Regions from separate parts of the Homo sapiens genome. Here all the other regions are linked to region 5. Evidence: promoter capture Hi-C in 16 types of primary human blood cells and fetal thymus (Javierre and others, 2016). All regions are on one chromosome and are shown on one strand. Each heading gives the region's core, a stretch centred on a gene start or on the middle of the fragment in contact. The rest is flanking DNA. Distances are from core to core; before and after follow the strand shown. Region 1 overlaps FMN1 (formin 1). Region 2 overlaps FMN1 (formin 1). Region 3 overlaps FMN1 (formin 1). Region 4 overlaps FMN1 (formin 1). Region 5 holds the start of SCG5-AS1 (SCG5 antisense RNA 1). Region 6 overlaps FMN1 (formin 1). Region 7 overlaps FMN1 (formin 1).

What was found. Contacts are between HindIII fragments. The CHiCAGO score rates a contact against its expected background, and 5 or more counts as called.
Region 1: a fragment that was not itself captured here is called in contact with the fragment with the promoter of SCG5-AS1 in region 5 in 9 of 17 cell types (M2 macrophages, megakaryocytes, naive B cells and 6 more); the score reaches 26.6 in M2 macrophages.
Region 2: a fragment that was not itself captured here is called in contact with the fragment with the promoter of SCG5-AS1 in region 5 in 1 of 17 cell types (M2 macrophages); the score reaches 6.2 in M2 macrophages.
Region 3: a contact is called between a fragment that was not itself captured here and the fragment with the promoter of SCG5-AS1 in region 5, in 4 of 17 cell types (M1 macrophages, M2 macrophages, naive B cells and 1 more). The highest score is 7.1, in M1 macrophages.
Region 4: a fragment that was not itself captured here is called in contact with the fragment with the promoter of SCG5-AS1 in region 5 in 2 of 17 cell types (M2 macrophages and M1 macrophages); the score reaches 6.8 in M2 macrophages.
Region 6: a contact is called between a fragment that was not itself captured here and the fragment with the promoter of SCG5-AS1 in region 5, in 7 of 17 cell types (endothelial precursors, megakaryocytes, naive B cells and 4 more). The highest score is 10.2, in endothelial precursors.
Region 7: a fragment that was not itself captured here is called in contact with the fragment with the promoter of SCG5-AS1 in region 5 in 8 of 17 cell types (M2 macrophages, M0 macrophages, M1 macrophages and 5 more); the score reaches 21.7 in M2 macrophages.

The regions. Positions count from the first base shown.
Region 1 is chr15:32,986,835-32,989,534 of GRCh38, forward strand. All of the region lies in intron 7 of FMN1 (formin 1), which reads right to left. Among named protein-coding and RNA genes, the nearest start is that of FMN1, 210 kb to the right of the region's middle. The HindIII fragment of the contact is 3,894 bases long and covers 1-2,700 here.
Region 2 is chr15:33,123,361-33,126,200 of GRCh38, forward strand. All of the region lies in intron 4 of FMN1 (formin 1), which reads right to left. Among named protein-coding and RNA genes, the nearest start is that of FMN1, 70 kb to the right of the region's middle. The HindIII fragment of the contact is 865 bases long and covers 1,066-1,930 here.
Region 3 is chr15:33,029,785-33,032,484 of GRCh38, forward strand. The region is part of intron 6 of FMN1 (formin 1); the gene reads right to left. Among named protein-coding and RNA genes, the nearest start is that of FMN1, 160 kb to the right of the region's middle. The HindIII fragment of the contact is 151 bases long and covers 1,356-1,506 here.
Region 4 is chr15:33,145,418-33,148,247 of GRCh38, forward strand. The region is part of intron 4 of FMN1 (formin 1); the gene reads right to left. Among named protein-coding and RNA genes, the nearest start is that of FMN1, 48 kb to the right of the region's middle. RefSeq lists an enhancer at 1-1,102. The HindIII fragment of the contact is 6,024 bases long and covers 1-2,830 here.
Region 5 is chr15:32,671,610-32,674,396 of GRCh38, forward strand. SCG5-AS1 (SCG5 antisense RNA 1) reads right to left here and starts at 1,456. Exons shown (of 4, transcript NR_135505.1): 1 at 1,381-1,456. All of the region lies in intron 10 of ARHGAP11A-SCG5 (ARHGAP11A-SCG5 readthrough), which reads left to right. All of the region lies in intron 2 of SCG5 (secretogranin V), which reads left to right. The HindIII fragment of the contact is 5,358 bases long and covers 1-2,787 here.
Region 6 is chr15:33,012,155-33,014,854 of GRCh38, forward strand. The region is part of intron 6 of FMN1 (formin 1); the gene reads right to left. It also overlaps the pseudogene HNRNPA1P71. Among named protein-coding and RNA genes, the nearest start is that of FMN1, 180 kb to the right of the region's middle. The HindIII fragment of the contact is 696 bases long and covers 932-1,627 here.
Region 7 is chr15:32,964,887-32,967,716 of GRCh38, forward strand. The region is part of intron 8 of FMN1 (formin 1); the gene reads right to left. Among named protein-coding and RNA genes, the nearest start is that of FMN1, 230 kb to the right of the region's middle. The HindIII fragment of the contact is 4,024 bases long and covers 1-2,830 here.

The DNA of each region.
Region 1 (2,700 bases), core at 153-2,652, 320 kb after region 5:
CTCCATAATTTGTGCTTTTTGAAAGAATAATTGTTATAAGAATTACGTATTTCAGGTTTTCTCTAGTAATTGGAAGGTATGAATTTAAATCTGACTTATTTCCTAACTGATCAAACATGGACTATAATTTATGAAATATTTTCAAAATAAACATTTAACTATCCTATTCAAACTTGAAATGTCACTTCAATTTTAGTTTGACTGAGGGTTATAGATGGCTACATTTTTTTCTCCCAGGCAATTTTTCTATTTTAAATGTTATTAGCTGCCCATATTAATAATGTGAAAAGGCAGAGACAGGATAACCTTAAAACTCATACATCATTTTTTCTTAAGTGTTTCAAAGGTTAATACCTAACCATAAAGGTTAATGATACAAGGTCAGCTGTATAACATCCACATGAAACCACATGACCGCTGTAGCGTTTCATACCATTGACATGTTGCTGTTTTGTGGAATGTATTTGTCAGTTACAAGAGATGACATGCTTGTTTGGTGCCATGTACCCTTTATGAAAAAATGAACTGGCTCAAGTATCCATGCCAGTCATGTACTCCGAATAATTACAAACTACTTCACACTCTAAATATTTAGATCACTAGGAATTTCAACGTTAGACCATCACCTTTCCCCCGACTGCACATCAGAGCAGAAGGCTTTCTGACTGCCTGTCCTTGAACATAACACTAACACAACATATGAAACTGATTAGGAGGACTGAGGTGTTTGAAAGAAAAAAACTTTGATTTTTATAAAGATTGGCATGAAGATCATTCTTCTCAGTTGAAATTTACTTTGATAAAATACACCCCCTTCTCAACTGCAGTTGCCAAGTATAAAAACAAATGCCTACTTTCTTCTGAATCACTTTTTTATATTTGTCTCATGTATTTTTCAGATTTTCACATCAGTGTAACACAGGTAAGAATAAAAGCATAGAATTAAATCCGAATATTTACCTATGAAGAAACACTTAACAGGCCAGTACTAAAACTTGGAGCTCATAAAAGGGGAAACATGTCTTTCTGTCGTTGAGTATAATTTAGTTTCAAAAGATGGTTTTTTGGGTTTGCTATGCAAAATCCTCTAGCAACAGTCACAGTTTCTCAGTACTGGTGTTTTAAAGTTCTTTGCTTTGGGTAGTGCCTCGTTGCAGGTTTAGGAGAAAAAAATGTTAAAAGGTATTCCTGACAGCTGGCAGCCTGTCTCTCCAGTTTTTTTTTTTTTTTTTTTTTCTTTTTTTAGGTAATTAGGTTGCTAATAAGCAGGGAGTGAGTGATGCTGTTGGACTCCAATGTTTGATTCTAGGTCACAGTAGGACATAGTCAATCTGGACACTGACCCATAGCTCACAAATCAGAAAAAAATCATCTGAGAATTAGAAAATAATCTACCAAGCTCCTATTTGTAAACCCTCAATACAATTCTTAACCTTGCAGAGATAAAGCGTTGGGGAAGAGGAAGTATTTTACAACCTTTTAATCTTAAAAAACAATAAATTTGAAATTGAGCAAAGTATTTGAAAGAGGTGGCCTTACTTTCCTCCAACTGATTTATACATTCGTAACAGAAGCGTGTTTGAGTTTGTGTCATCTGAAGATTCTGCTCTTAAATATGCTACTTTAAACCTAAGACAGCATATTCTCAGTACAACTCACCATTATGAGTTGAGTGATGGTTTTTCTGCCCATCACTTAGACTGTAGTCAACACTTTATCTTTGGCAGAGCAATTTCCACATGGCATAAATGATGGGGCAATGGACTGGGAAGAGGCTCGACTTTCAGTCATGGTGCTTCTATCAGTTTCCTGCCTGCGTGGTCTTGAGCCCTCTTGTTGCTAACTAGAAGTAACCAGACGGTGAATCTTACAGGGTGGCCAACTTCCTTGGCTACAATAAACCCCGTTGTTGTTGTGATCATGTCACCTCCCTTTAATGTATTGAGAAAGTTGAGAACCATTAAGCTAGATTCTAAGACCAACTCTTTTACCCTTTAGCTCCCCATCTATAAAATGAACAGGTTTCCAAAATATCACAAATTCAAGTAAGTCTATGTTGCTTCCACTTAAGCTAACGCAAATCATCATGCAAATGTTGTCTAAACGCACAACATCTGATAAATGCACATTTAAGACAGTCAGAAACAGTAAATGTCATTCTCCCAGCAGAAAGTCATAAACTGTCAAAAATATCTTTTAAAAAACCTTCTGGAAACACAGTTTTTCCACTACAGTTTTCCTTTGTCTCTGAGTTTGAAAAATATTACCTGTGAAATCACTTTGGTTTACATCCAGTTTCCACTATAGGGGAAGAAAGGAAGACCAACCAGTGATTAATTTATAGACTAATGCATTACTGTGATGGCAGATTCAACTGTTTGTTGTTTAGTGAAAGTTTATGTCCGTCATGTACATGACACTGGGGATGGAAGGTAGGTGGAGGTACCTCTGCTTTCATAATTATAATGTGAGAACTAGTCTGCTAAGTGCCTAAGTCAATTCAAAATTTCCGAGGAGGAAGCCTTAGGGAATTAGAGATGGTTTCATGTATGATGAGGAACCCTTGCAGGGCACAAAGAATTGGCAAAGGTAAAATGATGATTGTGAGAAATCCAAGTGAAAGATAAAAGCATGCTGGAGGGAAAGTGTAGGGAAATAGCGGAAGAGAAAACCATAATAATTCCCCACCCTTTGTAGTCA
Region 2 (2,840 bases), core at 248-2,747, 450 kb after region 5:
CTGGCATTCAAAGCCTACTGCACTATATAGTATACAGACTTGGTTCAAACAATGTTTGTTGAATGAATACATGGCACTAAGCTAAGACTCACTATCTGTGGCAATAGTTCCCCAAAGTAGTATCATAGCATATTAAGTAATAAATATGTCCTCAAAAGATAAATACAAGGCCTAGAATCTATTTCACCCTAAAACCAAGAATATTGAGGAAAAATTAAGTCTAACATATGGTATGGGGGTACAGGTTATATAGTGAGGGTTGTTGATCAAACAGCTAGCTATTTTATAGAATGCATGTTTTAACACAGATTAAGTTTTCCAAGACATGAACGTCCCTTCCATGAATTCCTCACTCCAACATCAGCACATTGCTTCCTCCATTTGGCCTTTTGGCTCCACTACGTAAAGTTTCTTAGTTAGAACTTCTTGTATTACAAGTGGCAGAAATCCAACTAAACTGGCTTAGGCAGAATAGAATTTGTTCATATAACCAAAAAGTCCAGGATTACAGGCATGGAGCTCAAATGATATAAGGAATCTCTCTACATCTCTCGATTCTGTTCTCCCCTCATGGTATCAAAGATAATCATTACAACTTCACAATTAGATTCTTCCAGCTCAGTAACCATAGCTACTAAGACAGTGTCCCAACTATTCCAGCAAAGGACTGGGGAACTACTCTCTAGAGTATAACTTAGAAAATGTGCCCGTCCATAAACAGATCACAGTGACCAGGTGACGTGAATTATCATTCAGTCCTGGGTTGAGGATCATCTCTAGATCCAATAGATCAGCTTCATCCTAACCATGCAGAGTGCAAAGGGTGAGACGTGGCTTTTCAAAAGAAAAGTGAGGTGATGTTAAAGACAAAAAGGAAACAGATGTTATGTGGAGGAAAAAAACACATTGACATTCACTGTAGAAAAGTTCTGAGACATAAAAGTGAGAAGGGGGTCTGGTCAGCGTCTTGCTGTGCTGTTATAGCCTCTCCGGGCTACTTCTGATCAATGAGTAGGACCCTCTGTACATTTCACCCCCCTTGCCATTTTGTGCCTTTATCAGTAAAGCTTCCCATGGCCCTGCCATTCAGCAGAGGCGGCAGCTGCATGACCTTCTTAAATTACTGCTTGGGACTGAGCATTGGGATTGCTTTAAAGCTCTCCCAAAGTGATCCTAATGTGTAGCCAGGGTTGAGTCATCGGAGTAGGAAAGCCCTTGGTCTTCACCATCAGCATATACAAATATTGCATTAATCTTCTAGAATGTATTTGGTATCTAATAATCTGTGTTCTTTTCAATAAAAATATCTGAGATTATTCCTTTCATTTTCAGAAACTGATCCACAAAGTCTGGAAGGAGAGGGAGGAAATCTCACAAATCAGACACTAAATAGCACTCCTTTGTGCTCCTTAATTTTGGATTTTGTTTTCTTTTTTGCATGGGATCAATTCAATACTAGATGAAAAAAATGCTTTTCATTTTTCTGCATTTTTTTTTTTAATTTGGAACGGGAAACAAATCATAGAGCCTTGTTTGGCACAAGGGCAAATGTTAAAGATACTATGTGCCACTCCCCTCCACTGAGGTTTTGATTTCTTTGAAATCAGAGGCAATTCAAATGAAGTTATATTCCTGGAATGTATAAAATCCCTTCTCGCATCCATGTCTACTCTATCATGGAATGCTTAAACAATTTAAAGCGACTGAGTTTTTCCACCAGCCCCTCTCTGTGAAATAACATAATGCCTTAGAACATTACATCTAGGGAGGCCAAATGATGCGGTAGAATGCAGAGTTTGAATCCCTGATCCATCACTTACTGTGAATCACTTACTCAGCTTAAGAAGGTCACCTAATTTTTGTCTTCCATAAAATGGAGGAAATAACCTCTCTCAAAGACTCTTGTAAAGTTTAGAGATAATACATAGAAAGCTTCTGATGCATAGTAAGCCGTCAAGAAATGTTAGCAATCATCATTTAGGAAAATAGTTTCCTTTTAAAATTCAGTCTTGAAGGTTAGTTCTAGTTGAAGAAAGGTAGACTCTTCCTAGATGTACCAGTGCACTAAGACAATATGTGTAGAAGATTATTTAAAGGAAATATCTAATGGGGTTATACAAATTAGTTATGTCTGGTCTTCAAATGAACCCTTCTCAAATTTGGATATCTAAATTACAGCTTAAAAAAATTCAGAATAGGTGGGGCATGGTGTCTCACACCTGTAATCCCAGCACTTCGGAAGGCCAAGGCGGGCAGATCACTTGAGGTCAGGAATTCAAGACTAGCCTGGTCAACATGGTGAAACCTCGTCTCTACTAAAATACAAAAATTAGTCAGGTGTCTCAAAAAAAAAAAAAAATTAAGAATGAAGTCTGTTAAATGGCCAACTTTGTATGGTGAAATTTTGGTAAAAACTCCCACTGTTTTAGTGACTGAGCCCTTCCTATTTTCATGTAGTTCATCAAGAATGTGCTTCATCAGTAATACTAAATCTCTAAATGTTTAACTTCTCAAGCATGACTGATTGGCTATAGCCTATTGAAAAGTGCCAAATTTCTTTCTAAAAACCATCTCTAACAATTCACGGTTGAAGGCTTTTTTGTGCAGTAAGTCACTAAGTTAGGAAAGTGGCTTCTAAATCTACACATGAGATAACAGTAATACCAAACTCACAGTGCAGTTGTGAAAAACAGATAAGGTGGATGAAAGGGCTTTGCAGGTGATAAAGCACTGTGTAAATGTTACGCTTTTGCAGCTGTGGCTGCCACAGCTGCTGACTAAATGAGTTTATCCCCGGTCATGAGGAGCATACATCCTCATTAGAGACATGGTGTGTTATT
Region 3 (2,700 bases), core at 181-2,680, 360 kb after region 5:
GGGATCTGTGGTTTGGGAGAACTGTGGGAAAAAGCCAGAATGATAGAAGTTGGTAGGTAGAAACAGGAATGTTATAATTTATCTTTTCAAAGGCCAGGTGCGGTGGCTCACGCCTGTAATCCCAGCACTTTCGGAGACCGAGGCAGGCAGATCATGAGGTCAAGAGATCAAGACCATCCTGGCTAACAGGGTGAAACCCCGTCTCTACTAAAAATACAAAAAAAATAGCTGGGCGTGGTGGCGGGTACCTGTAGTCCCAGCTACTCGGGAGGCCGAGGCAGGAGAATGGCGTGAACCCGGGAGGCAAAGCTTGCAGCCAGCTGAGATTGCACCACTGCACTCCAGCCTGGGCGACAGAGCAAGACTCCGTCTCAAAAATAAACAAACAAAAAACTAAAACTGTGTTAAGTAAATATAAGAGCCAGAATGTAGATGCAGATAGTATTAGCTGACTGAAATGGAAAAGAATCACCACTGGAAGTGAGGAGAGGCCGGAATTTGGAATGGGTTATCCCAGTGTTCATTAAAAGAAAATAGAGACCAGAGACCTGGTAGGTCAAGAGATGAATGTGACCGGAAAAGTTCATCTTGAAAGTCACATAATGTATTCCTGAATCCCCAAAGAACTGAAAAATCACGTCACTCTGTGGATCTACGTTCTGACTTACTGAAGTTTTGTGTTAAGAGCTCTCACAATACAAGGATAAGCGGCTTGCAATAAATATGCCTTATTGGTTTAATGGGGACATTAGGATCTGGTTTCAGTCACAAAACCAAACAAATGATAACACTAAAATAGAATTTTATATTGCCAAACCATGTTTTAATGTTTACAAATGCCCTATTTCTTCATATACAAGAACACCACTGATTCTAAGATGCATCAGTATTTACATACCGAAAAGAAAGTAAAACTGCTGTTAGTTATAATTGTAAAATGCCCATTGTAAAACACATCCTAATTTCAGGTGTAGAAAATGTGTATTATACATTAGATAAAATATATAAACTCAAATAATCTATATAAACCTTATGTGGGAGTTTTTTTATTAATATACTTTAAGTTCTGGAACACATGTACAGAATGTGCAGGTTTATTACATAGGTATACACGTGCCATGGTGGTTTGCTGCACCCATGAACCGGTCATCTACATTGGGTATTTCTCCTAATGCTGTCCCTCCCCTAGCTCCCCACCCCACCCCCCGACAGGCCCTGGTGTGCAATGTTCCCCTCCCTGTGTCCATGTGTTCTCATTGTTCAACTCCCTGTGTGGGAATTATTATTATTATTATTACCACATCCGTGTTAGAAGTAAAAAAGATCAAGGCACAAACAGCTTAAATGGTTGCCCAAGCTTACACAGGTAATAAGAAATACAGCCAGGATTCGAACCCAGGAAGCCTAACTCCAGAATCTATATACTCTTAATGTCCACAGCATACTATCCAAACTCAATAAATGTCCATCGAGGAAGACAAAAAACCATCATGATACACAAGCCTAAGCTTTCTACCATCAGGAGGAGCCAGCACTGTGGAGAGGGTCTGCTTCTGATGCACCTGAGAGCACAAACTTCACAGAGGACTTGCAATCCACAGGGCAGATCTGACTCAGGCCCAGTCCTCTCCAGAGGAGCTGCCCCAATTAGTGGTTTCCTGAAATACAGACCTCGTGGCATGACCAGTCAGCACCAATTCATCCCCACCCACAGGTTTTTTTCCACTTGGCCATTACTATCCCCATTAAACCTTTAGCAATATGTACTCGTCCTCTTCTTCCAGTTGTCATCATATGCTTCATTTCATGAAGGCAACTCCTGGAGCCGCGTTCACAGCTGTCCCAAATAAAGGAGCCACAGCTGAATAAGCAGCCAGATGCATCCAGCCATCAGGTGATACAGCCTCAGGCTGCTCCATTCCCTCTGGCTCTCACGACTGGCAAGCTGGAGGGCCAGGCTCATGAAATTCACATATTCCCACTGACTGCATTAGTTACTGTGGTAACAGATGTCACAGAAATAGGAAGTCACAGTCATCAAGTTTCTATGTCCTATAAATATATGAACAAATGTTCAACCTTGTTGGTAAACAAATAAATATTGATAAAGCAGTAATGTATCAATTTTTTGTCTACTTGTTTCCAAAATGTTTTCACATTTTTATGTCATGAAACCCGATGTTGTCTAAAAATCAATAAATGTAATCATGAAGTGTTACAATCATTAACAACAAAAATAATAATTACTACTGCTAGAACTGTTGCTAATATTAACAGTTATCGTATGTGTTCTACGAACCAGGAATTGTGCTAAGCATTTTACCTGACTTACTTTCTCTAATCCATGGAGGTTTTAACCATAGTATTCCACTTGTAGGACACTTAGGGTCATTAGTTAGGAAAGAGAAAAGCAGACTACCTTTTGGGAGGTTGATTTGGTAGCTGGCATGCAACACTAAACGAGTACATCATGGTTTTAATGACTCATTCGTTGAATCCCCCTCCAATAAATTCTGGAATATGTTCAAAGATGTAGATGCAAGTATTCATTACAATGTTATTTCAATAGCAAAAATAAATATTAGCTTAAAGGTTCAAAAACATTGAATTTCTTAAATATTATCCATTAATCTTGTAATACTCCATAGTTATTAAAAAGTTAAGTGAATTATTTTCTTCTGTTTGTGTGTATGCCCTTGT
Region 4 (2,830 bases), core at 203-2,702, 470 kb after region 5:
ATCCTGTTATGCAGAATTTGCTTTCAATGTCCTAAAGAAATTTTAGTAACATTACTCTTTAAATTTTCACACTGCTTTTTTTATGGCAGTCCTCTCTCCCTATCTCCAGGCATGAATCCATGGGGCTGGCGCAACAGAAAATCTGGAGAACATACGTCATGCTATTTTCAGTGTTGTCCCTCCCCGTGGTAGCCGCTACCCTCGGATGTGGCTCAAATTCTTGCTTTCCTTAAGATGAGCTTTGTCCTGTGATGATCATCCCAGCCCTCAAGCAGAAGACTCTGGACGGGCATGACTGTCAAATTATCCAGACATGCCCAGACAAGTCTGAATCCTAGGGAGAACATAGCTGAGGCCCAAGCTGCACACCTTATTTACTCTCCACAATTCCTCTGGGCTCACCTGGAAACCAACAGCTTTACTCAGTCACAGGAGCACTTCTGAGTTCTCCCTCTAAACACAAAACTGAAACTAAAGACTTGAACGTTTTAGAAAAAATACGTGAAATCTGAATGAACTGATTTGTGACTTTATTGTGAATAAAACCGTATTACCATGAATTTTTTTTTTTTTTTTGAAATGGAGTCTCTCTTTGTCACCCAGGCTGGAGTTCAGTGGTGCAATCTCGGCTCACTGTAACATACTTCTCCCGGGATCAAGAGATTCTCGGGCTTCAGCCTCCCGAGTAACTGGGACTATACCATGAATTACTAATACAAAAATCTGAATCTCAGCGTTTGAAGTCCTCACTCACTTGCTTAGCGTGAAACCCAGTCCTCAAGAGAGGAAGTCCCTACCTCTCTTGAACAGCTCTTCAATACTGCAAAACTGTTGGGCTTCTGATGATAAAGTTCTTTCATTTCTTTTTGCCAAAGCTCCTTCTTCCTCAAGTGTAGGGGCCCTCCCAGGAGGATGAGGAAATGTTTGTCCAAGACATTCTGGCCCAGAAGTGTTCTCTCTTGGTACTTTTCCTTCAGTAGTTTGTTGTTCCTCCCTATTATCCAACATCGTTCCAGGACCCCTCAAATCCGTCTGTATCCCATACATCTCTGAATTCCAATTCTGACCTGATTTCAAGTTCTTTCCTATAAGGCTCTGAGCCTTGTTTCAATGTACTGGAACAATCCATGACTGTGAAAAAAAAATTCCTAGAACCTTCTATGAGAGGGAAGAAACTCCAGAACATGCCATGATAGGAGGCTGAGCTGCCGGGGCACACAGAGGAACTCCAAGGGGATGGTATGACCTAATATCACAGCCCAGGGGCCACAAAGATACATTAGATATGGTCTGATTCCAATTTCAAAATTATCTAACAGAAGTCACTATCCCTGTAAGTGATCAGAAAGCAAATACAGTGAGATCGGCACCACAGTCATTTATCTGCTCACAGCTATCAAGAGGAAGGGGGTGGGGCCGCAGTGGTATCTGCTGTTTTCAAAAAGTGCTTTCTCAGGATTCCCTAAGAAATAAAACAAAACAGGCCGTGGCTCACCCCTGTAATCCCAGAACTTTGGAAGGTCGAGGCGGGCAGATCACGAGGTCAGGAGTTCAAGACGAGCCTGGCCAACGTGGTGAAATCCCATCCCTACTAAAAATACAAAAACTAGCCAGATGCACACCTGTAATCCCAGCTAGCTGGGAGGCTGAGGAAGGAGAATTCCTTGAACCTGGGAGGCGGAGGTTGCAGTGAGCCAAGATCACGCCACTGTACTCTAGCCTGGGAAACAAGAGCGAGACTCCGTCTCAAAAAAAAAAAAAAAAAGAAATAAAACAAAACATACGCTTTCAATATTCAGTACTCTGCTTTATCAGTTTGATATAATACTTGTAATCCAATTACAACCCGAAAAGGTTGTCTTTTTCTCATGTCCCAACCAATAATGACATGAGGCAGAGTGTTGAGTTAACAAATATATCCAATGAATTATTCTCTAAAATTTAATATCTATTTATTTTAAAAATAGTTTTCTCTTTTACATTTATCAGTGGCTGTTACTTTTAATCATGGTGTTATTCTGCTATTTCTACACATCTTTGGAATTATTTCGGAAGGCTGTGCATATAGCCAAAGGCCACAGACTGCCACCCTTGCTTTATATCTTGTACTCTGAATCCAAAAATAGAGACAAGTGAAAAGCAATCCAGTGGAAGGTGTTATCCTCAAAGCATAATTCAATCTTAATCTGGGGAAAAATGCACAGGCATAGAGCTGGCTTGAGATTTTAAAACATCAGATTCTGGCCATGGTCCTGGCCTTTAAATCACATTCCCCTTTAAAAAGCAAAACAAATGAGAAAAATACTCATTTATTTTATACAGAAACTGACCTTAAAATACAAATTGTTCATTAGTAGAACATTTATTTCGTATTTCACATGCCAATGAGCTATTCTTATTTGAGATCATTGGAAAAGGCACTCTTTAAAATTCTCTTTATGCTTTACACAAAAAGCAAGCAGGCACAATGGGATCTCAAACACTGTTAAATTTTAAGAGCTTTGTGTGTTGTTTTTTGAAAAAAAAAATATTGTTTCTGAATCCATGGACTAAAAATCATATTACCAGGACTTCTAATTCACTTTCTCTTTGTATGAACTTTTAACAATAAAAAGATGGTCAACCTAATCAAATTTAGAGGAGAAAGGTCACATGAGAAAGAAATAAAACACTGTAATAATCATTTAAGTATTAAGATTACCACTGTTCTATAACAAAACATATACCCATATACCACATAAACACACATTCTTCTTTCCCCTGTTGCTCATTTAAAATTCCATCCCATCTTTCACATCCATTCACTAATAAATCGGAGGGAAAAAACTGT
Region 5 (2,787 bases), core at 206-2,705:
ATTGTATAGAAGCTGACGAATGAGTCCTCTGATTGTGGACAAGTGATGGCGCTTTTTGTAAAATTGTGTATGTGTTTACCTCAAGTAGTGAAAAAAAAAAAAGAAAAAACAACTTTTGGGGCAAGTTGGACCTTAGGAAGGAGATTTCTGGGTCTCGGGGTTTCTCTTAGCCCCCAGTGCCTGGTGCCTGCGGCCGGTGTCGCCTCAGGGAGTCCCAGGCTGTTCTGTGGCCTCCAGAAGGAGCCACCCCGCCCCTTCCTCGCCCCACTCCGCTTTGCCTTCCCTTAGCCTGGGGAGCCTTGCCGCCTCTCCACCTTCTCTCCTGGTCTCCTCGGGCGCTCTCGCGCTGGCACCTTCAGCTCTGTCAGAGTCTGAGGGGAAACCAAAGGAGGCCAGGCGGTGTCTGGAATGCCCCATCCGACTGCTTCAGGCTCCCAGACCGCTGACAAAAGGAAAACTGGTCCGTCGCTTTCTGAATGATGTATCGAGACCGCAGTGTATTTTTAGCATCTGCTGTTTGTGGTAACATAAGTGAAAACTGCTGGACCCGTTCCCTTCAGCTGAATGGCTGGTATTCAGGGGCCTGTGCCCGCTCCCTGCCAGACGCTCCTCACAGAACTCCCTTTTTACGAGGTGGGCGACTGGCTCCCTGGCACCAGGCTGCCCCACCACAATTCTTTATTGCCCAGCGCCAGTGCCCAATTGCATGAATCCCCAGGGCTGCAGGCAGCGTGAGGGGTGCGAATGGGACGATGCTGGCTGCGGGCTTGTCAGGGTGTTCCCAAGTTGTGTGGCAGAGTCTGGAGGGCAGGGGTTGTCCGGATGTTCCAAACCTCCAGCGTGAGGTGGGCACTCAGGTGCGAAGGAACCATGGTGGCGAGGCCCACAGGTGGCGTCCCATCCCAGAGCCATTTTGCCGGGGCCTGGCTCTGCAGTAGTCACTGACACCGGAGATCCCCTGAGTGACCTGGAAACTATGAGAGACCCCAGGTACCCCGACAGGTCATTCTACTAACTGTGGCTGTGGAGCTCCAGCTCATCTTTGGAAGACGGAAACGCACTGGAAAGGGTATGAATGGACGCAGAAGGCCTCGTGGGGGCTCTCTCAGTGCCACTGTAGAGTGAACACAGGGCTGGAATCCAAAATAGCACCAACTTGCTGAGTGGCTTTAGGCAAGAAACCTTTCCCCAGGTCTCACTTTCTCACTTAGAATGATGAATAGTGATTCTTGTCCTACTGACCTCACTAGGACGTTTTTAATAAGGATGAAAGCACTTTGAAACTGTTGAAACCATAACATCACAAAAAAAAAAAAAAAAAAAAGAGACAGAGTGACGAAGTAACGCAGGTCCCATTTATGTTCTTAATTTCTGACCAACCTTAACTTCCATCAAAACTGCTTCCACTAGCCCCAGCCAGGAGAGCCGTTGCATCGTGGTGGGACATCATCAGGCTCTCCAACGGACATCGCTTATACTATGAGAACTCACGTTCAAGGGAGGTGTTTACCTCTAATTCCCACAGAACTAGCGTAAGTAAAAAATGGGGCAGCAGGATCCTTTCCTTGCAAAGTGTGAGCAAGTGCCTCTGTAGAGTAAAACTTTAAGTAAAAGGACTACAACGGCAGTGACAGCTCCTTTATCTGAAACTGCAGACTTTTAAGAAGGTTCTTAGCAGCCACACCGATGTCACAAATTCCATAAAGCAAGATCACCTAGGCACTCTCTCGGAGCTAATTTTATCTCATTTTATATATAATTTTAATAAGCCTGGCTCTCTCATTTTCTAGCCCCTTATTACTGAAAATGTGGCTCATGGACCAGCAGCATCTGCACTATCTGGGAGCTTGTGAGGAATGCAGAATCTCAGGCCCCACCCTTCACCTTGAATCAGAATCCACATTTGGATAAGATCCCCGTGTGTGTGTGTGTGTGTGTGTGTGTGTGTGTGTGTTGTGCGGGGGAGGGTAAAATTAGAAGAGACTTGCAGGGCCTAGGCGCACTCTCAATTTATTGTATTTCATTATGGAAAGGATTTGGGATGACTAGAATTAATAACTTAGAAGGAGTGAGGTGACAAAGAACATTAAAAACTATTGCATCTGGGACCATTTAATATAGGTTTGTTTGTTTGTTTGTTTTGAGACGGAGTCTCACTTTGCCGCCCAGGCTGGAGTGCAGTGGCATGATCTCGGTTCACTGCAACCTCTACTCCCCAAGTTCAAGTGATTCTCCTGCCTCAGCCTCCTGAGTAGTTGGGATTACAGGCGCCTGCCTGTAATTGTATTTTTAGTAGAAATGGGGTTTCACCATCTTGGCCAGGCTGGTCTTGAACTCCTAACCTTGTGATCCACCCGCCTCTGCCTCCCAAAGTGCTGGCATTATAGGTGTGAGCCACCGCACCCGGCCCATTTAATATAGTTTTATATCCGAATGCCCTTTAATACTCTGAGAATACACTGTTACAACACTGTATAGTCATTGATATTCCCAGTAATAGTCCCAAATTATCAAGAACAGGCAAAGTCATATTCTCCTGCTGTTTAAAGTATTTACCTAATGTTCATAGTGGAAAATTCTCCTTTAAAATGGTTAAATAAATCTTGATCTTAAACCGATGCTTCAGTGATCTGAATACTACATGAAACAGCACGTTCTCTCTAAAGAGATAAGTGAGATGGTACTATAATCGGAAACCTCTGTTAATTCGGATTTTGTTTTTTATGCACATTTTAGAGAGTCAAATTATATCAAGATAAAATATGATAACAGAGATTTACTCTAAAA
Region 6 (2,700 bases), core at 30-2,529, 340 kb after region 5:
AGCTGTGGAAGCTCCTCATCAGAGGGTTGGGCTTTGAAACCACCGATAAGTGCCTGAGGAATCATTTTGAGCAATGGGGAACGCTCAAGAACTGTGTGGTAATGAGATCCAAACACCAGGTATTCCAGAGGCTTTGGGTTTGTCTCATATGCCACCGTGGAGGAGGCAGATGCAGCCATGAATGCAAGGCCACACAAGGTGGATGAAGAGTTGTGGAACCAAAGAGAGCTGTCTAAGAAGATTCTCAAAGACCAGGTGCCCACTCAACTGTGAAAAAGACATTTGTTGCTGGCATTAAAGAAGACACAGAAGAACATCACCTAAGAGATTATTTTCAACAGTATGGAAAAATGGAAGTGATTGAAATCATGACTGACCGAGGCAGTGGCAAGAAAAGGGGCTTTGCCTTTGTAACCTTTGACAACCATGACTCTGTGGATAAGACTGTCGTTCAGAAATACCACACTGCAAATGACCACAACTGTGAAGGTAGGAAAGCCCTGTCAAAGCAAGAGATGGCTAGTGCTTCATCCAGCCAAAGAGGACATAGTAGTTCTGGAAACTTTCGTGGTGGCCATGGAGGTGGTTTTGGTGGGAACGACATCTTTGGTTATGGAGAAAACTTCAGTGGTCATGGTGGCTTTAGTGGCAGCTGTGGTGGTGGAGGATATGGTAGCAGTGGGGGTGGCTATAATGAATTTGGTAATGATGGGAGCAACACTGGAGGTGGTGGAAGCTACAATGATTTTGGCAATTAAAACCACCGGTCTTCAAATTTTTGATCCATGAAGGGAAAAAACTTTGGAGGCAAAAGCTCTGGTTCCTATGATGGTGGAAGCCAGTACTTTGCCAAACCACAAAACCAAGGAGGCTATAGGGGTAGCACTAGCTATGGCACTGGCAGAAGATTTTAATTACTGCCAGGAAACAAAGCTTAGTAGGAGAGTAGAGCCAGAGAAGTGACAGGGAAGCTATAGGTTGCAACAGGTTTGTGAACTCAGCAAAGCACAGTGGTGGCACAGGGCCTAGCTGCTACAAAGAAGACATGTTTTATACAATACTCCCGTGTATGGGCAAAAGAGTTAAGGACCATATTTGTGATTAGTTATATAACAGGTTATTTTAATTTCTGTTCTGTGGAAAGTATAAAGCATTCCAGCCAAGGGTTTTAATACAGTGGTTTGTCTGCACCCATGCTATCAATTGCTAAATGTAATAGTCTGATCATGAAGCTGAATAAATGTGTCTTTTATTTTTAAAAAAAGAAAGACTAGCAAGCAATAATATTAACAAAACTAAGAAGAATGGTGGTTTCCAGGAGAAGATGAACCAAGTTGGGTTGTGATTGAGCAAGGAGATGTTATATGGGTGTTAAATGAAAAATTATTCTTTAAATTGGATATTTTTTACGAAATTATCTTTATGCATATCTAACATTAAATGAAAGAAAAAATACTTCTCTTTTGAAAACTGGTTACATTCGTTTCCTCAAATATCAATATAGGCAAAACAGAACATCTGAATTCATAAAATAAGAAGCAGAAAGTGACTTAGTAAGTTTAAATCTTGTGTAAATGTTGAGTCCTAACCCATGTCATGATAAATATCCAAACCCTAACCAATTCCAAGCTTCTACAAAGTAGTCAAAGGAAAGCTACTTAAACCAAGCTTCTTGTGAAATTGATGTCCTTTGAGAATAGCATCTACATTCTAAATAGAAATTATACAGACTATATTTTGCAATGATTCATTTTGTGTAAATTGTACCTATATGGGTGTGACAGATATCGCTATGACTAATTCATTAACAAACCGATGAAGGAGACTACTGCAAAGCTAACATCTAGGAAAGCATGATTCATCTCCTCCTTTAACAAATATTTTTACCAAGAGTCCCAGTGTGACGGGTGGCAGGAAACACACTCCCATCCCAACAAGGATGACAGAATCCCTGGGCAGCATGTAGAAGGAGGAAGCTAATGCCTTTACTACTGGCATTGGTGAATGCTCACTTTGAGAGTTCACAAGAGAGTAGTAAGAGAATATAAAGGTTACAGAATAATGTCCATGAGTCAAAACTAAGTTAGTGCTTTCCAAATGTGTCTTGTTAGTGGCAGCCCCCTGCCCCCAGATGCTTCTTGAGGCTTGCAGATGCCTGAGTGTGAGGATGGGGAGGCAGAGGTGTCAACTCAAGACCAAGGATGTGTGTATTTGTTAAAAAGAGAACTTGACCCTAGCATTGGTATTCAGTAGCTCTGGGACCTTATAAGTGTGTGAAAAGGAGGAACAGGAATTCTACATCAGGGTTGAAAAGGGCAGACTCATTTGAAGTCACATTAGCCCCTAATGGAAGTTAATAAATCAATTTAAATAATCTATTCCACAAGAAACAAGTCTAAAGAACGTCTTTTTGAAAACAATAATGTAGTCCATGAAAGACAGAGAAAGGAGTAAGGCTCCTAACTGGCAGGATTCAACATTTTGGAGGAAAAAAAAATGAAAGAACTTTCTCTGTACAAATAAAGCTTTCTTAGTCTAGTATTTAGCTAATTGGTTCCTTCCCTTTATGTTGCACAAACCTTCCTTTTTGATCAGTTCACAATAACAAAACATCCTTCCTGCCAGGTGTCATTACAAAGTTTGTGCCCTCCAATTTGTGAAGAGCAGAATTACAGATGATTCCACAAACACAGAAGGCAT
Region 7 (2,830 bases), core at 271-2,770, 290 kb after region 5:
ACCTCATGGGATATCATCTAAAGTAGCCATAGGGAAACTGGGCTGTTTCATCTTCCAGAAACAGGGGCACCCTAGTTTTGAAGGGAAGAAAAGCTCTTGAGAATCAGGCGTAACAGAACAGCCTCCGTGAGCTGACTCCAGTGGTCACTCCTCAGGGTTCCCTCAGTCAGAACACATCTCCCAAATGTTTACTTTCTTATCTTAATTTCAAACACTATTAATGTTTACTGGTCAGGCATGGTAGCTCACACCTGTAATCCAAGCACTTTGGGAGGCTGAGGTGGGCAGATCACTTGGGGTCAGGAGTTCAAGACCAGCCTGGCCAACATGGTGAAACCCCATCTCTACTAAAAAATACAAAAAATTAGCTGGGCGTGGTGGTGGGTGCCTGTAATCCTAGCTACTTGGGAGGCTGAGGCAGGAGAATTGCTTGAACCCGGGAGGCAGAGGTTGCGATGAACTGAGATTGTGCCACTGCACTCCAGCCTGGGTAACAGAACAAGAGTCCATCTCAAAAATAATAATAATAATAAATACTATCAATGCCCACAAATTTCATCTATATACTTATTGTTTATCAAACATAGGTATATGTTACAATCCATAACATCTAAAAGTATATAGCTTTATTTCCATACCTATTTTCTCAATGAAAACTAAAAAGATAACTATTATTACATGGAATGGTCCACAGAATTTTGTAATACTACAGGTGATTTTGGTATTTAAAACAGTTGGCAGCCCTGGCTCCTCAGGTCTGCGTGTTCACACTTTGCAATAGATCTGCCTTTCCCATGATATATGACATTTTGGTTTTGGCCACATTCACCTCTTCTCTCCTCTACTTTTTATTTTTTAAATTATGATTTCGCCAATAGTTGAACCATGTAATAGTATGACATATGGAAGTTATAAAGTATAACAATAGAATGAACACCTGGGAAACCATTACCCAACCCAAGGGCTAGAACATTTCCAGTGAAGTACATCCATGTATGTGTTCCTCTCTCAGCCATACCCCTCTGCTACTCACTTAACTTCAACTTGAAGCATAAGCACCACGGATGTTAAGTGCTTATCTCTGTGGTGCTGGGGGAGACGGGGGAGAAGTAGGATCTTGAAGAAGGAAGTCAGCTGGGAATTCTGGAGTGAGCATGCGGCATGTTAAGGGCCACTGGTCTGGGCCTTGGGAAGGTTCTGGGCAGCTAAGGGGTGACGTCTAGAGTGAAGTGATGCAGAGTGTCAGGCCAACTGCTCAGCCCCATCCCCACTTCCTGCACCTGCTTGGCTCTAGCCCCACGGACTCTGAGGTCAGGCCAGTGTAACTAGTATTATAATTCACTTATATTCTGGAGTAAATTGGCTTTGGGAGTCAACCGTGATCAGTTTAAGCACCTGATCACCATTTACAACACTATTTCTATGGGAAAGGTATTTCCAATACTGAATGAAAGAATTTTGGAACACTGCCTCTCAGTGATTTTGGGACAGCCAGCATTTGGTAGGGCAATAATAAGGACGTGCTTCCCAACGAATGACCTGCCATGGTGGTCAACTGACCACTGAACATACAATTCTAGCTCAAAAGGAAGGCAGGGGGAGAGAGAGAGAAAGAGGAGGAGGAAAATGAGAAACTTACTAAGAAGCTGAAAAGGTAGTTAGATGAGGATTTATTTTTCCTTAAGTGTCTCTTGCTTATTCTAGAAATCACGAAAGAGACACCCAAGAAGGCAAAACGTCAAAAGAAAAAAAATCAGTTCATACCAGGAGTCAAAAGCAATTTAGGTAGATGAGAGGCAGTGTACACATAATGCTGAAAATTCACATTTTGTTTCTGGCTTCCCAGAAGAGCAAGACCAACATTTATGATGCAATCATTATATAAACTACTTAATCCTCTAGTTGCACAAAATATTAAAATATGATTTTGCCTCCTTTATGAGAAGGTATCCCAAATAATTGCACTTTTGCTCCTAAGCAAATACTCCACAGGCTCTTTGAGTCATTTTCATTTAAAAGCAGTAGTGCTAATAGGTACAAAAAGTTGGAGGGACCCATAATAAAAGAACTTGAATATGTGGTACCACCAGGAAGTGCCCGTGTTGCAGTCTTAACACATCATAGAGGGGCAGCCCCCCGTGTTATGTTTCAGGTTCAAATGCGCACCAAGCAGGGCTCTCTTGATGTCCTATTCATCTACTTTTCATTTTGCTCAAAAGTAAAGCCCTAGATTTATGATGAAACCAGTGAGACCTTCAGTATTCAATTGCTTTTCTTCTCAAAACGGCCAACTAAATGAGGAGGAAACAATGTAGACAATGATTGTCTCCAGCTTTCCCGTGGTCGTGGGTGAAGGGCCCACATCTCCCAGTGGGACTCTTTGATGGCTGCTGTGGTCCACAGTTACCTGTTGCTCATGAAGTCTCTCAGGGAAGGAAGTGAAGGCAGGCTAGTGGGACACAGGTGTGGAACAGCTCCCCGTGCTGTCGGACACACTCGTCCAGGGCTTACAGGTGGGAGCTATTGCCCTGGAATGGCTGTGCACTAATTTGAGAACACTAATACGGAAACATGACTCAAAATAAATATTCTGGGAAATGATTTTTTAGGAAATGTCTGAGTCTTTATTGGGAAAAAGGGAATACTAGTACTTTAGTTAATGGCAGAAGCTATTACAGGATCATCTCACTTTTTTATGAACCATTCATTTGGGAAATTACAAAGTATAATTGAATTTTGTAAAAAAGAAGTATCAGGATGTTCCAAAAACAAACTCTTGGCCCTTATTTTTTGGTGAGAGGAAAGGGGAAAATATGAAGCACATATGCTT